Linked DNA regions of Homo sapiens: region 2 is linked to region 1. Evidence: promoter capture Hi-C in 16 types of primary human blood cells and fetal thymus (Javierre and others, 2016). All regions are on one chromosome and are shown on one strand. Each heading gives the region's core, a stretch centred on a gene start or on the middle of the fragment in contact. The rest is flanking DNA. Distances are from core to core; before and after follow the strand shown. Region 1 holds the start of RNF26 (ring finger protein 26). Region 2 holds the start of NLRX1 (NLR family member X1).

Region 1 (2,759 bases), core at 125-2,624:
GGCTGAGTGCCTGGGTAGCCAGCCTCAGGGTGAAGTCCGGATGCAACACAGTCACCGTCACTGCCAGCACACAAGCTAGCAACACCAAGCCAGTGAGATTGACAAGCACAAAGCTGGCCAGGAGGCGGGCAGCTGAGGCCAGCAGCTCCAGGGCTAGTTGGCAGGGTGTCCAAAGGAGGATGGCCATGGCCACAGCACTGCTGGAAATGTGGGCTAGGAAGGCAGCCACTACGTCCGTCATCCTCCACAGAGGCCCGGTCACTGCATCCCACAGGGCCAGCACCAGGGAAAAGAGGTTCTGAGTGCCGATGAGGCAGATGTTGACCAGGCTGTTGATCACATAAGCCACCAGGCTCATGGCAATGGCACAGATGTCACAGGCCTGGCGCAGCAAAGCATGGCCACTGGAGACCACATTGAGGACGCCCCGGTGCAGTATCTCCCTGCTCCGCAGTGCCCCATGAGAGGCCAGGTGCCCCAGGAGCTTTAGGCTCTCTAGGCCAGAGCAGCAGCTATACAGCAGAGTACACAAGGCCTGCAAGCCCCCACATGTGAACCGGACCACGGCTTCGATCAAGGCCAGCAATGAAAGCAAGACTCCGCGGCCCAAGTGCAGAAGACTAGTCAGTACCGTGTGCGGCAGGTTGTAGACGAAGGCCAGGAGCCAGGCCAGGGAAGCCAGGAGGGAGGACACCAGCAGGAAGTTGAGGTCCAACACCAAGGTCAGCACGTCCAGCACCAGGCCCAACCCATTCACTACCAGGTACACTGCCTCCATGATAGGGCTATGGAAGTTAGTCCAAAACAAAGTCTGGCTCCTCGGTTGGGGGGTTGTCAAGGTTGTCAATATTTTAGGGGGTCTGGGATTAATTTGGAAGGAAAATGAGCAGTCTCCAACCCAGGGGGTACCAAGAATCTGAGGAAGAAGTGGGTAAGACGGAAGTGGAGTCTTGGTAGAGGGAAAGGTGGCCAGGTGCCAGTCCAAGAGTCCAGGTTTTGAAGATGGGCTGTTTGGGAGGGAAGAGGCCAAACATCTCTAAAGCGAAGGCGAGCCCAGGCCGTAGGAGCGACCTCAGCTTTGGATGCCTGGTGTGGCGAACCACGGCCGGGCAACGGGTCAGACCGGGAGGAGACGAGGAACGGATGGAATGGGATCGGATCGGATCGGGTCGCGTCGGGTCGGGCCGGGGCCGGGTGGGGTCGATGTAAGCTGGGCGCAGGCTCTCAGTCCAGCTACGCAGGTGCCCCTGTCCCCGCCCGGCCCCCGTCTTCCCGCTAGCGGCGCTTTGCACCCAAAAGGGGAGTGGGAGAGGCAGCCAGCTTCAGCAAACCCCAAGCGCAGCCCCTACTCCGCTGGGCGCCGCCATCTTGTGTGCAAAGGGGTGGAGCCAGAGGCGTGACGAGGAGGGAGGGACGACAAACTCCAGCCAATCGGTGAAGGCCAACCACAAAAACGTCGATCACTCATTGGTCCGTTTGAATGGCGCCCGAACGTATTTACTTTCCAAAGGGAAGGAGAGGCGACAGATTAAATCCCCTCCCCCTTTAGGCGGGGATTGGTTCGTTGGCGGGCAGCGTCGAAATACGCTCTCCTAGCCCCACCCTCTAAAAGAGCAGGGTCTTGGACTCCCCTCAATTTGGGAGCTGTTCTTTCTCCCGGCCTCTGAACGCGAGGTTTTTTTTTTGGCTTGGGTCGGAGGTCACTGCCTCTGGGCTGGGCTTTGGAATAGCACCGCCTTCGCAGCCTGCCCAGATCCGTCTCCTCATTCTCTTCTATTTATTCATCTATTCTATCATTTATTGAACTCCTACAGTGCATTGAGGATACAAAAAAATTTTAAGACAGTGCCTGCTGTTCACAAGGGAAAGCAGATTATTACAGGGGATTCCCAAACTGCTATTCCAAACTTTCCTCACCAGGTTTTTCAACATCTCGGAAGATTACTTCATTGTCATTGAGAAAAAGGGGCTACAGATTTAGAAACCGCTCAGCTTCCTACCCTGGGCCTTCCTACCCTAGAGTGCAGTGGCGCGATCTCGGCTCACTGCAACCTCTGCCTCCCGGGTTCAAGCGATTCTCCTGCCTCAGCCTCCCGGGTAGTACAGGTGCCCACCACCTCACCCGGCTAATTTTTGTATTTTTAGTAGAGACGAGGTTTCACCATGTTGGCCAGGCTGGCCTCGAACTCCTGAACCTCGTGATCCACCCGCCTCGGCCTCCCAAAGTGCTGAGATTACAGGCGTGAGCCACCAAGCCCGGCCCTGCCCTTTTCTTTAATACTCAAACAATAGTCAAAATATATTTGAAACCCCATCCCAAATATATTGGGAATCCTGGCGTTTTCTACTAACTCCAAGGATGCTTAGCAGACTCCTAGTGGACTTATCTTTCCCCTGGTCACCTTTGCTGAATTTCCTACTTGAGTTGAATTCTCCATCTCCACTCCTGGGCTCCTGAAAGTGTCCGTCCTCCTTCAGTCTGCCCTGAACACTGCCTCAGAGTCCTTCATTCTCCAAAGCATCACTGATAAGAAGCTGAGGTGTGCAGCAAACCTTTACTGAGGCCTTGGGATCGTGGTAGGGGTACGCTATAGTGCAGAGGAAGGACTGCAGTCGCTGAAACTCCTCTGGCTTCTTCCTACCCTTTCTCTCTCCCTGCTCTCAGGCCCTGGCCAGGTTATGGTTTGTTGTGTTGTGATGTGTTGCTGATGTTTTTATTTTCCTACTCGCATCCTCCCGCCAGTGTCAAATCTTGGAGA
Region 2 (2,759 bases), core at 67-2,566, 170 kb after region 1:
AACCAATTTTTTTTTTTTTTTTTTTTTTTTTTTTTTTTTTCCTGAGACAGGGTCTCTCGCTCTGTTGCCCAGGCTGGAGTGCAGTAGTACGATCTCAGCTCACAGCAACCTCTACCTCCTGGGCTCAAGCCATCCTCCTGCTTCAGCCTCCTGAGTAGCTAGGACTAAAGTGGTGTGCCACCACACCTGGCTAATTTTTGGCTTTGGTTTTTGTAGAGACGGGGTTTTCACCATTGTTGCCCAGGGTGGTCTCGAACTCCTGGGCTCAAGTGATCCGCCCGCCTTGCCCTCCCAAAGTGCGGGGACTGCAGGCGCGAGCCACCACTCGGGCCCCAACCAATCTTTTAAGATCCTGCTCAAAAGTCTCCGTCCCTGGGAAGTCTTTTCTGAGGCCTCTGAACTCACTTAAATGGAATGTGCCCCTATTTGGCACCTGGTCTCCTCCACTGAGATCGGGGCTTCTTGGGCAGGGTACGCTTAAGGAGAACTGGCTGCATTGGGCCACCTGCCTTAGCAGGGCCAACCAGCGGAGGAGCTGGCTGGGTGCTGGCCCGTCCCAGGGGCTGCGGAAGGGTTAAGAGAGGGCTCCAGAAGCCTGAGAAAGCCTAGGTTCCGGTTTAACCTCGGATCTAGGGCCACTGAGTCAAGACGGGACTTGCGGGGCCGAGGGCAGTTCTCCGGTGATCACCCAGGTCTCCAGGGCAATGAGAAAAGGAGGGGGCACTGCAGGAAACGTACAGGGGCGGTGTTCCTACAGGTCCAGAGCTCCTCCACCAAACTGGGTCCCAAACAGCTCTCCTACTTTCGGGTGGCCTCGGGAACGCAGGGGGAGACTTGCCAGAACGCCCGCCATTCAGCGCCCAGCTCCGTCCCTCTCGTTCTCGGCCGGGATCTCCCCGCGGCCCTTGCACAGCCTCCTCCCCCGGCCCGCCCTGCCCCCCGCTCAGCGCGGCCTCCCAGCCAGGGCGCAGGGGTTATCAAGCCCGCTAGGCCTTTACCCGCGGCTGCCCAGTTCCGGGAGCCGTCGGCCGCGGCCCAGAGGGGTCGGCTGGGCGGACGCCGGCGTCTCCCGCTAGCTCCCAGAGTCCCCGGCTCCTCGGCGTGGCGCTTCCTGCCCACCTCCGCCCGCCTGCGCGGCCCTGGCACCTGGCAGCGGGCGCGAAAGAGGACGAGCCCAGGCACTCGGGCCTGCGGGGTCCTGGGACGAGGGGGTCAGCGAGAGGGGCCCGGTGCTCCGGAGCAGGCGCAGGGCTGGAACCCCGGCGCCACCCGTCCCGCCATCGTCCCCCCTCCCTGCCTCCATCCCCGCGGGCACTGCCGCTAGTACTGCCCTCTGCAGGTTCCCAAGCGCCAGTGACACCCAGTGACCTCACTAACCACCTCCCAGGCTGGGCTGCTTGTTAGGCCCATTTTACAGATGAAGAAACTGATGCTCAGAAGGGTGAAATGACTTGTGCAGGTTGATTCAGTTAGGAAGTGGATGAGCCAGAACAACATCCCGGGCCTGAGTCTTCCTACCTTACCCCTGGGCCTCCCTGAGGCGCGGTGTCCAGGGGATTCTTCCCTCTGTCCCTCTCCGCCTCCCCAGCCTACCTTCAGGCAGAGACCTGAGCCTAAGGCTTCCTTGGGTTCTGCCTTATGTATCCGGTCCTCTTCAGAGCCCAGACCTATGTGTGTGGCTGCTGGTAACCTTGGTTAAGAAAGAAGGAAGAATGGGGGCTGAAGGACAACTTGCACCCCAACCTGCTCTTCGGGTCTGACACCCATTCATGGCCTAGCCCTGGGGCTTCCCAGTTCCCAAAGCCCCCACCCTTATCCCTACACTTCCACACACTTCCACACCCTGGGCTCACGTAGCCCAGAAGGAGGAGCCACCCACCACCCACAGCCAGGGCACGCCTTCGTATGCAAGCATGAGTGTACGATGTTCACACAACAGAGCTGTGCACTAGGGCACCCACAGAGAGGCTCTCCAGGGCAGGGCTGGGAAGAGGACTTACTGAAAACAATGTGGATGTTTCATTTAGACATTTGTTCATTCGTTGTACTGTGGTATTGGGTAGCACTGAGCACCTCACCCCCACAAGCCAGGTCCAGCACTAGGCCCTGGGCTGCCAACCACAGCAAGGCAGGCACCTCACTTTAATGGAATCAACTACCACATTTACAAATGATGTACTTCAAGGCCGAGGCAGGAGGATCACTTGAGACCAGGAGTTTGAGACCAGCCTGGGTGACATAGTGAGACCCTGTCTCTATTTAAAATGAAAATAGAAAATAAAAATATAAAAAACAGACAAACAAATGATGTACTTCAGTGGCAGAGGCAAGGCATTAGGAGAGTCTGGAAAAGGGAGTGCAGAGGAGGTAACATTTGTACTGGATCTGAAAAAATAAATCAGAGGACCAGCCGCGGTGGCTCACACCTGTAATCTCAGCACTTTGGAAGGCTGGGGGTGAGGGCAGATCTCCTGAGGCCAGGAGTTTGGGACCAGCTCAAACTCGTCACCATGGCCAACATGGTGAAACCCCCGTCTCTACTAAAAATAACAAAAATTGGCCAGGCATGGTGGCTCATGCCTGTAATCCTAGCACTTTGGGAGGCCAAGGCAGGCGGATTGCCTGAGCTCAGAAGTTCACGACCAACCTAGGCAACGTGGTGAAACCTCATCTCTACTAAAAATACAAAAATTAGCCGGGCTGGGTGGTGCATGCCTGCAGTCCCAGCTACACAGGAGGCTTAGGCAGGAGAATCGCTT

What was found. The method cuts DNA at HindIII sites, captures the fragments that hold promoters and counts their contacts. A CHiCAGO score of 5 or more calls a contact.
Region 2: the fragment with the promoter of NLRX1 here is called in contact with the fragment with the promoter of RNF26 in region 1 in 8 of 17 cell types (naive CD4 T cells, fetal thymus, non-activated CD4 T cells and 5 more); the score reaches 9.0 in naive CD4 T cells.

What each region holds. Positions count from the first base shown.
Region 1 is chr11:119,333,142-119,335,900 of GRCh38, reverse strand. RNF26 (ring finger protein 26) reads right to left here and starts at 1,374. Exons shown (of 1, transcript NM_032015.5): 1 at 1-1,374. The coding sequence starts at 778. RefSeq lists an enhancer at 841-1,732. The HindIII fragment of the contact is 9,565 bases long and covers 1-2,759 here.
Region 2 is chr11:119,167,282-119,170,040 of GRCh38, reverse strand. It overlaps NLRX1 (NLR family member X1), which reads right to left and starts at 1,316. Exons shown (of 10, transcript NM_001282144.2): 1 at 739-1,316. RefSeq lists enhancers at 1-520, 521-1,226 and a silencer at 798-1,407. The HindIII fragment of the contact is 14,996 bases long and covers 1-2,759 here.